Linked DNA regions of Homo sapiens: region 1 is linked to region 2. Evidence: promoter capture Hi-C in 16 types of primary human blood cells and fetal thymus (Javierre and others, 2016). All regions are on one chromosome and are shown on one strand. The core of a region is centred on a gene start or on the middle of the fragment in contact, and the rest is flanking DNA. Distances in the headings are between cores, read along the strand shown. Region 1 overlaps SNX8 (sorting nexin 8). Region 2 holds the start of PSMG3 (proteasome assembly chaperone 3).

Evidence for each region. The method cuts DNA at HindIII sites, captures the fragments that hold promoters and counts their contacts. A CHiCAGO score of 5 or more calls a contact.
Region 1: a fragment that was not itself captured here is called in contact with the fragment with the promoter of PSMG3 in region 2 in 5 of 17 cell types (naive CD8 T cells, M0 macrophages, total CD4 T cells and 2 more); the score reaches 7.5 in naive CD8 T cells.

Annotation. Positions count from the first base shown.
Region 1 is chr7:2,307,685-2,312,791 of GRCh38, forward strand. The region is part of intron 1 of SNX8 (sorting nexin 8); the gene reads right to left. Among named protein-coding and RNA genes, the nearest start is that of SNX8, 4.2 kb to the right of the region's middle. RefSeq lists enhancers at 9-308, 1,795-2,304, 2,305-2,815, 2,816-3,324, 4,407-4,476 and 3 more. The HindIII fragment of the contact is 3,363 bases long and covers 56-3,418 here.
Region 2 is chr7:1,567,001-1,572,529 of GRCh38, forward strand. PSMG3 (proteasome assembly chaperone 3) reads right to left here and starts at 3,032. Exons shown (of 2, transcript NM_032302.4): 1 at 2,124-3,032; 2 at 332-850. The coding sequence starts at 2,339. The coding sequence ends at 698. PSMG3-AS1 (PSMG3 antisense RNA 1) reads left to right here and starts at 3,073. Exons shown (of 5, transcript NR_027329.1): 1 at 3,073-3,279. RefSeq lists enhancers at 1-486, 313-607, 2,762-3,330, 3,954-4,023, 4,034-4,083 and 1 more and silencers at 2,704-3,133, 3,574-3,653. The HindIII fragment of the contact is 7,479 bases long and covers 248-5,529 here.

The DNA.
Region 1 (5,107 bases), core at 487-2,986, 740 kb after region 2:
ACAGCCAGGCTCTCCATGCACTCTCGGGCTCTGTGCCTCCTACCTGCAGCCTCCAAGCTTCTAATCACCGCATGGCTCCTCTCAGACACAGCAGGTCCTGTGAAACCACCCACGTCCAGCCAGCACCACCATCACCCCCGGTCTCTTCCCACTACCCCAGCAAACAGGATGGGCAAACATCTCTTTTTGTGATGCTTTTCTCAGGAAAGACAAAATAATACCAAAACAGAATTCCCCTACCCGGAACACATCACTTTCTTGCTAACCACAAATTCTGGCAAAATCTGTTCTACATAACAGTGATTCAGTTAGTTCCTCTTTCTTCAAATTGACACGTTTTACCTTGCAAATTGTGTATGTGTGCGTGTGTGTGTGTGTGAGAGAGAGACAGAGAGAGAGAGAGGATGAGCAAGTTTAAAGACCAGTAACAAAACATATTTGCAGTGTTGTCAAGTCTTATCACATAAGAAATATAATACAAAAATTTATAAAAATGTAATTCTATTCAAATATTTGAGACTCTGCTACATAGCAGATAGTATTCTAGATACTGTGGTTAAAGAAAAATAGGTTTCTGTTTTCTGGAGAGAGCCAGAATTAAAAAAAGAAAAAAGTAACAAAACTATATAAACAAAATAAACTTGTAAAAAAAATAAAAATAAGTTTGCTCATCAGGAGTTTACTACCAAAATATGTGTCATGGCCAGTCACGGTGGCTCACACCTGTAATCCCAGCACTTTGGGAGGCTGCAGCGGGCGGATCACCTGAAGTCAGGAGTTCGAGACCAGCCTGGTCAACATGGTAAAACCCCGACTCTACTAAAAATACAAAAATTAGCTGGGCATGGTGGCACACGCCTGTAATCCCAACTACGGGGGAGACTGAGGCAGGAGTCACTTGAACCTAGGAGATGGAGGTTGCAGTGAGGCTAGATGGCACCACTGCACTCCAGCCTGGGCAACAGAGTGAGACTCTGTCTCAAAAAAAAAAAAAAAAAAAAAAGGGTCATGGAAGGGAGCGAAATGGGGCAGAAGGTTTTGTCCCTAATGCAAACAATACTGTGGGGCATAATTTAATCACCATAAAATGAACAAATTTTTTTTTTTTTTTTTTTTTGAGCTGGAGTCTTGTTCTGTCAACCAGGCTGCAGCGCGGCACCATCTCGGCTCACTACAACCTCTACAACCTCTGCCTCCCAGGTTAACGCAATTCTCCCACCTCAGCCTCCCGAGTAGCTGGGATTACAGGCACTCGCCATTATGCCCAGCTAATTATTGGATTTTTGTACAGACGGGGTTTCACCATGTTGGCCAGGCTGGTCTTGAATTCCTGACCTCAGGTGATCCGCCCACCTCGGCCTCCCAAAGTGCTGGGATTACAGGCGTGAACCACCAGGCCCAGACACAAATCTTTTTTTTAAATAGGGATGGGGTCTCACTCTATTGCCCAGGCTGGCCTCAAACTCCTGGCCTGAAGTGATCCTCCTGCCTTAACCTCCCAAAGTGTTAGGATTACAGGTGTGAGCCACCACACCCTGCTCAAAATGTATAAATAGGCCCAGTGGGGTGGATCACCCCTGTAATCCCAGCACTTTGGGAGGCCAAAGCAAGTGGATCACATGAGGTCAGGAGTTTGAGATCATCCTTCCTGGCCAACATGGCGAAACTTCGTCTCTACTAAAAATACAAAAATTAGCCAGGTGTGGTGGCACACGCCTGTAATCCCAGCTACTGGGGAGGCTGAGGCACAAGAATCACCAGAACCAGCCGGGCGCGGTGGCTCACGCCTGTAATCCCAGTGCTTTGGGAGGCCAAGGTGGGCAGATCACCTGAGGTTGGGAGTTCGAGACCAGCCTGACCAACATGGAGAAACCCCGTCTCTACTGAAAATACAAAATTAGCCAGGTGTGGTGACGCATGCCTGTAATCCCAGCTACTCAGGAGGCTGAGGCAAGAGAATTGCTTGAACCCGGGAGGAGGAGGTTGCGGTGAGCCGAGATCGCGCCATCGCACTCCAGCCTGGACAACAAGAGCGAGACTCCATCTCAAAAAAAAAAAAGTATAAACTTTAAGTGACAGCGCAATGAATTCTGACCAACGTATTCACACAGAGAACAGACCTGACATGAGCGAGCAGCTGCAGGTAAGGGTTGATGGGAGCCCAGGGTGCATGGAAGTCGCCCAGGCAAGAGGGGAAGGCTCGGGGCAGGGGTGAAGGAGCCCCGAGGGTCAGCAAAGGCCCTGGACCTGCCTCAATGACACTCAAGGAGTCATCGCCAGGTCAACGCGGACAAACAGCACGGAGCTTCCGAACCGAATGGAATGTATGGAATGCCATGGGATGAGCCGCAAGTGAAGCGTGACTCACCCTCGTTCTAAAGAGTCAATGTAGGGCCGCAGGACTGTATACGGCAGAGCCAGGATACGCCGTGGTCATCTGTACATATTTCTATCCATGTATTAATCGATCCCGAGAAATCAGGCTGGACGACCAAGCACACTTACCACACTCACTGCCGTTCTCGCTGGATGTCACAATCATTGAGCTTCATGACCTAAGAACAGGCCCTGAAAAAAACCCTTATCCTGCATAGTCAGAGGACAGAATGTTCCGGTCAATCAGATATTTTGACAGGAATAGTTTCAATATAAAATCCAGCCAGGCTCGGTGCCTCATGCCTGAAATCCCAGCACTTTGGGAGGCCCGGGTGGGAGGATTGCTTGAGGCCAGGAGTTCCACACCAGCCTGGGCAACACAGCCAGACTGTCTCTACAAAAAATTTTAAAAATTGGCCAGGCGTGGCTGGGCGCAGTGGTTCACCCCTGTAATCTCAGCACTTTGGTAGGCCGAGGCAGGCAGATCATGAGGTCAGGAGATCAAGACCAACCTGGCTAACACGGTGAAATGCCATCTCTACTAAAAATACAAAAAATTAGTCAGGTGTGGTGGCAGGCACCTGTAGTCCCAGCTACTCAGGAGGCTGAGGCAGAAAGAAGAATGGCGTCAACCCAGGAGGTGGAGCTTGCAGTGAGCCAAGATCGCACCACTGCACTCCAGCCTGGGCAAAAGAGTGAAACTACGTCTCAAAAAAATAAATAAATAAAAATAAAAGGAACAAAAGAAAGCTAGAGAATATACTACGCTAGGGAAACATGAGCACACTTATATAAGGAAGTATATGTTTCCTGAGTACATATATGAATAAAATGTGAAAACAGAACTAAAACGGTCCATCCCAAACTGAGAACAATGGTCACCTCTCAGGTACAGACAGGAGATGATGGCAATTAGGATGGGACTTTCACTTAATCTACAATGTTCTATTCTTTTTTAAAGAAAATACATTTGTCCATGTATGGCATAACTGAAAATTAAGTTTTTATAAAGAGGGTTGCCCTAGAGAGCATTCACAGCTTAAGCTTCAAAGAATTCAAATAGAATGAGACTCTTAATGTGGAAAAGTACAACAAGCACATTTTTTTCTGGCAACACCGAAGATGCAGGAGATTTCACAGTTCCCACATGAATACCACCAGTGGGCTCTGGCTGTGTGGCCAAAACTCTAGAGAAGAGGAAATTCACTGTATACCCGTAAGGCACAACCACTCCTTCAAACCAACCTTAGTGAACGTGTAAGTCACACACATAGTCTCCGGACAATATTCAGAGACTTAACTTTTTTCTTTGCTGTTTTTGTTTTTGTTTTCTTTTTTAAAAATTTGAGACAGGATTTCGCTACGTTGTCCAGGCTGGTCTCTAGCGCCTGGGCTCGGGCGATCCTCCCTCCTCAGCCTCCCCAAGTGCTGTGATTTCAGACGTGAGCCACAGTGCTTGGTCTCAAGGCTGAGGTTTTCTCACTCCAGCCCACCCAATCAGGGTCCCCATCAACACACATTCCCTTGACATTGCCCACTTTGGGCAAATTACTTACCTCTGGATTTTAGTTTTCTCAATGTAAAAAGACCTGCGAGGCCGGGCGCGGTGGCTCACGCCTGTAATCCCAGCACTTTGGGAGGCCGAGGCGGCTAGATCACGAGGTCAGGAGATCGAGACCATCCTGGCTAACATGGTGAAACCCCGTCTCTACTAAAAATACAAAAAATTAGCCGGGCGTGGTGGCGGGCGCCTGTAGTCCCAGCTACTCGGGAGGCTGAGGCAGGAGAATGGCATGAACCCGGGAGGCAGAGCTTGCAGTGAGCCGAGATCACACCACTGCACTCCAGCCTGGGCGACAGAGCGAGACTCCGTCTCAAGAAAAAAAAAAAAAGACCTGCTATACCACTTCACCCACCTGCCAGGATGACGACCAAGTTTCAAACAGAAGGACAGTCTACGTCCCAAGAGTCTGTGAGCCCCACTTTCAGACTTGCCTGGTTACAGGAAAGGGCACTGTGAAGCACTGCCTTGTCCCAGCAACCCCCATCTGTGGATCCCATCAGCACTCCTGATGAAATCACCACTGCCCCCAGAAAAAGCCAACTACCTACAGGAATTCCAGGCCACACCAAAGGGAGGGCGGTCTCCCAGAGACACAGCTCCCTCAGGTGTACAGCGCTCAGACTATCTCTAAATTACACCATTATGGTAGCCTCTGGAGTCTACTTCTGTGAAGCCTGAAGGAAACACAGTCCCCTACACCTGCAGAGGACCCCTCCAGCAATGCCAAATTGCTTTACAAGCTGAGATAGCAGCAGCATTCCGATCCAATCACAGCCTACCTGTTCCCAAGTGACCCCTCGGAAAGGGTCCCGCCTGAGACTCACGCTGGCCTCCAACATGTGACTTCATGGACACAATGTTCTAATCAGCGAGAACTATCACGTGCCTCCCCTTACACTGATACAAGGGAAAGGAAAAAATAACTGAAGACCCATTCTGAAAGGCCCTTCTTTCTAGACACAGTCTTCACATCGAGGATGCCCACCAAATGCAACAATCCCTCCCCTGCTCCCCGCTGCCGTTTCTCGCCGACGAAGAAACTGTCTACCAACCCTCCAGAGCTCACTTCAGTCATCACCTCCTCAGCGACACCTTGCCAGACCTCCCCACAAGGGGATTCCCCAATCTTGTCCCCCCCCACCAAGAAGAAACCGTAACTCACACCAA
Region 2 (5,529 bases), core at 1,782-4,281:
GCTCCCTTGACAGAAGCGTCCCCCCTCCCTTGCTATGCAGGATTCAGAGGACAGCGTCTGTCCCCAGCTGCAGCACGGTAACGGGCACACACATTAAGATAGTAAGAGATGTCCGCTGACGGCCACCAGCTTCCCAGCAGGCTCAGAGAAGTTACTGGAGTTGGAGCTGGGTGACAGCGTGCACAGGCCCAAGCATGGGATCCACCCAGTTCCTGGGAACTACGTCCCTCTGCGTTTCTGCCCAACAAGCTTCCCTTCATGAAGCCCATGAAACTGAACTCATGCTGTGCGGCTGCAATGTCTCGCTACTGTTAAGGAGGACAGTGAAGTATTTTGGGATACACATTCGCTTTTAATAAAAAAGAAATTTCCTCCTACAATTGATCCTGCACACGGGGGGGCCATGAGCCACGCCTGCTGACTCATTCCTCCAATTCTCAAACACAAGCAACGATTCAGGTCCTGGTGAGAACCATTCACGACTCCTCCGGGACCTGTTCCACCCTCCCCGTCATGCACAGATGATCTTAGTAACCAGAGTAAGAGTCTGCCTGAGACACGAGTCTTTTTTCCTGGCTCCAAGGGCTAGTGCCAAAGTTCCTCCCTCCACCGGGGAGGGAGGTGAGACTTGAGTCCCTGAGTGGGTGTCTGGGTGTTCACGTGTCCTGCTGAGCAGCGCGGGGCGGCTGCCTCCAGGTCACCACACCTGGCACACCCGGATCACCTCCCTCAGCGCCTTCAGCCCCTCCATGCTTTTGTCCTTCACGGCCACGGCGAGGAGGACTGCTCTGTTTCCAGCTTCTTGAGACACAAACGCTACCAGGTTCTTTGCAAAGACATGGATGAGAGGCTGGTAAAGGAAGGAGAAGAAACCATTTTAACTGCAAGAAACCTGGTTTTTTCCTCAATGCTTTCATGAAGTATCCCTTAGGAACCCAGGCAGGCTTCCCACACCACCATTAACCGCCACATAAGTCCATGCAACTGTGACTCAGAGTTCTGGCAGCACTCAGAACACTCCAGTCACGGGCACACTGCTAAAGACCATCACTCCATTCATTTTCCCAGCGCCTTCCGCAGCCCCGCCTCTTCTGGCTCTCTCTCATCTAAAAGAACCCAGGAAAGAGAAGCCTGCAGAAGCGAGTGCTGTCGAATCTCACGTGTGATCTCCACAGAGCACAGCACAGCCAGCCGCCTGCTCACGTAATGTACCATGGCAGGGGAGGCGGCTCGAATGACAAAACTGCTGCTTCTGCTTGTCTGCTGGATAAAATGCCTGCGGGCTGGACAAAGCATCCACTGAGGGCAAGCAGGGCGCCTTGAGACCCACAAATGCCCGGAAAATGCTATCGCTGTAGGGGTATTTGTCCGCCAGATGCCCCATGTCCTTACTGACAAATCACAGCCACTGGAGAGGTTTATGCTCCTCCCTGGGGGTCCCTTCCTGACCACTTTATTATTATTATTATTATTATTATTATTAAAGACAGAGTCTTGCTCTCTCACCCAGGCTGGAGCGCAGTGGCACAATCATGGCTCACTGCAGCCTCAACCTCCAGGGCTCAAGCCATCCTCCCACCTCAGCCTCCCAAGTAGCTGGGAGCACAGGCACACACCACTAGGCCCAGCTAATTTTTTGTTTCCTTTTCTTTTCCTTTTTTTTTTAAGACCAAGTCTCTATCTGTTACCCAGGCTGGAGTGCTGTGGCACGATCTTAGCTCACTGCAACCTCCGCCTCTCGGGTTCAAGCGATTCTTCTGCCTCAGCCTCCTGAGTAGCTGAGATTACAGGCATGTGCCACCACACCCAGCTAATTTTTATATTTTTCGTAGAAATGGGGTTTCCCCATGTTGGCCAGGCTGGTCTGGAACTTCTGACCTTAAGTGATCTGCCCGCCTCAGCCTCCCAAAGTGCTGGGATTACAGGTGTGAGCCACTGCACCCAGCCTCTCTCTATATATATATTTTGTGTAGGCACTTGTTTTTTTGTAGTGACTTGTGTGTGTGTTGTTGTGTTGCCCAGGCTGGTTTCAAACTCCTGGCCTCAAGCGATCTGCCCGCCTAGGCCTCTGAAAGTGCTAGGGTTACAGGCGTGAGCCACAGTTCCCGGCCAATCCACTTTACCTCATCCTGCCCCAGAAGGACTTTTGTGGTGAGCACAGGCTTGCTGACGTCACTGGCCACGCTGCTGGGCTCCAGGGAGACCAGGGTGCCCATCTTCCCAAACTGGGTCACCACCACCAGGATGTGACTGCTGAAGGCCGTACACACCACCTGGGTGGGGACCCCGCACACCACCTCCGTCTTCTGCTTCGATATCACCAACGGCGTGTCTTCCATGGCGGGGCTCTGCAGTGGCAGCTTTAATTTAGGTTAAAAAGAAAGGGGAAAAAAAGGAGTCAATCAAACAGTACAGCCTTGGGGCTCCCAAAAAAGTAGCACGGGGCATTGAAACGGAAACGCAAGGAGGCCCATTCAAAAGAAGGGGCCAGGCGCGGTGGCTCATGCCTGTCATCCCGGCACTTTGGGAGGCCGAGACAGGACGATCGTTGAGGCCAGGAATTCGAGACCAGCCTGGCCAACATAGCGAGACCCCCATCTCTACCAAAAAAAAAAAAAAAAAAAACCAGCAGGGCGCGCCTGTGGTCCCAGTTACTCAGGAGGCTGAGGCGGGAAGATCGCTTCAGCCCGGGAGGTCGAGGCTGCGGTGAGCCGTGATCACACCATTGCATTACAACCCGGGCGGTAGAGCGAGACCCTGTCCGTAAAAAAATAAAACAGAAGCAGGAGCGGGGCCGCCCATAGAGACCGCGCCTGGGGCTTTCTGGGTTAGGGGATCGACTTGCACGTTCACACTGCCAGGCCGGGCAGTGGCTTCCCGCCCCTCGGCCTCGCCGCCGCCCCGGCCCTGCAGCCGCGGCCCGGGACCCCCACGACACGCGGTGCCGAGGCCGGCCGGGCTACTGGGGACGCAGCCGCCCGGGGAAGCCCGCGGGTACCCGCGCTCACCAAGCCGGCGCCGCGCCCGGAAGTGGCTCTGCGTGCGCCACGCGGGCCCGCCCCGTCCGCGGGTTCCGTCCACCTTCCGGAAGTCAGGGCCGCGGCGCTTCTGGTCCCGGAGACTTGGGGCTCCCGGGCTTCTGAGCGGCTCGGGTTCCGCGCTGCCGGCAGGGCTTGGGGGCGCCTTAGAGCCGAACCCCGTTTTTTCAGGAAAGGGCGCTGCGACCACCCCCGTCCCGGGCCTCAGCCCCTCTGCTGCAGACCCTCGGGATCGTCGCTGGTAGGAGCTCTGTCCCCCGTGTCTGTGTCCAGGACCCCCGAAGCGCCGCGCCTAGGAACCCCCTAGCGCTGGGAGCCCGGCCCTGCTCGACCACGGGCTTTGGGCTGGAGGCGTCATCGTCGCCACAGCGAACGCTTATTTGGCACCGAGTGTCCGCCAGGCATCGCTCTAAGCGCTTTATACCCATAACTCACTTCATCTCAGCCACCCGGTTCCGTAGAAGCGTTTCATCCGCGTTTTACAGACGTGTGCAGGTGCAGAGAGCTCGGCCAGGCTCAGGCGGCGGGCGGGCTGGGGTGGGCTCCGACCGTCCCTCGGGCGCTCCGTGACACGAAGCCCCGGCCAAGGCCAAGAAGGGGGCCAGCCCCACCCTGAAGCGGGATGAGTTCTGGTTCCTCCCAGGGACCCCCTCACTCCCTACTGCTCACTCTCAGTTTCTCCAAGCTGGAAGGTTTTTTGTTTTGTTTTGTTTGAGACGGAGTCTTGCTGTGTCACCCAGGCTGGAGTGCAGTGGCGCGATCTCGGCTCACTGCAGCCTCCGCCTCCCTGGTTCAAGCAATTCTCCTGCCTCAGCCTCCTGTGTAGCTGGGATTACAGGCGTGCGCCACCAGGCCCGGCTAACTTTTTAAATTTTTAGTAGAGATGGGGTTTCACCATGTCGGTCAGGCTGGTCTTGAACTCCTGACCTCAGGTGATCTGCCTTCCTCGGCCTCCCAAAGTGCTGGGATTACAGGCGTGAGCCACCGCGCCCCGCTGCTGGAAGTTTTATTGGTAGGGTCGGACATCTTGGTAGCAGAGGCTGAAAGTGATTGGAGCCTCCAGAGCCTTCCTCGGGGTGGGGCGTTTAACATCCCTTCAGAACCCCACCCTCGGAGGCCTTACTGTCGTTTCCTGACAACCATGTCAAGGCCGTATTTTCTGTCTATATTACCAGAAAGGGGTCCCGATCCAGACCCCAAGAGAGAATTGAGGGCGAGTCCACAAAGTGAAAGCAAGTTTATTAGAAAAGTAAAGGAATTGAGGCAGGAAAACAGGGTCTGGAGGCAGGGAACACTTCAGCTATGACAGGAAATACCCTCTCCATAGGGTGTACACTGAGTAAATGATTTTGTAACTTTATTTCATCCTCTTTATTTACATAGGGCGTACACCAAGTAACCAGTAGAAACCCCTAGAGGGTATTTAAACCTCACAAGTTCTGTAATGGGGCCCTGAGCCTCTATGCTTTGGCCGCCCCCACACCATGGAATGTACTTTCATTTTCAAAAAATTTCTGCTTTTGTTGCTTCATTCTTTTTTTGCTTTGTGCATTTTTTTTTTTTTGAGACAGAGTCTCTGTTGTCCATGCTGGAGTGCAGTGGCGTGATCCTCACTGCAACCTCTGCCTCCCGGGTTCAAGCAATTCTCCTGCCTCAGCCTCCTGAGTAGCTGAGATTACAGACGTGCGTCACCATGCCCGGCTAACTTTTGTGTTTTTAGTAGAGACGAGGTTTCGCCATGTTGGCCAGGCTGGTCTTGAACTCCTGACCTCAGGTGATCTGCCCGCCTCGGCCTCCCAAAGTGCTGGGATTATAGGTGTGAGCCACCGCGCCCGGTGGCTTTGTGCATTTTGTCCAATTCTTTGTTCAAGATGCCAAGAACCTGGACACCCTCCACCAGTAACAGAATAAAGAATGGCTACTCCATAGGCAGAGCAGCATGGGCTGCTGGTTGCCCATTTTTGTGGTTATTTCTTGATGATATGCTAAACAAGGGGTGGATTATTCGTGCCTTACCTTTTTAAACCCTTTAGGGTAACGTCCTGGCATTGCTATGGCATTTGTAAACTTACGGCGCTGGTGGGAGTGTAGCAGCTGGGACGACCAGAGGTCACACTCATCGCCATGTTGGTTTGGTGGGTTTTGGTCAGCTTCTTTACTGCAAACTGTTTTATCAGTAAGGTCTTTATGACCTGTAGCTTGTGCCGACCTCTTATCTCATCCTGTGACATAGAATGCCTTAACTGTCTGGGAATGCAGCCCAGCAGATCTCAGCCTCATTTTACCCAGCCCCTATTCAAGATGAAGTTGCTCTGGTTCAAACACCTCTGACATTTACACCACTGAAGCTCCAAGGAAGATCTTGACTCCCTCTTCTCACCATTTGATGACTTCGTATCCAATCCAAGTCAAGTCAAATGAAGCATGCTCCTTCCAATGATGATTTCTGGAGGCCTAAAATAAAAAGCATGCATACAGAAAATGATCAAAA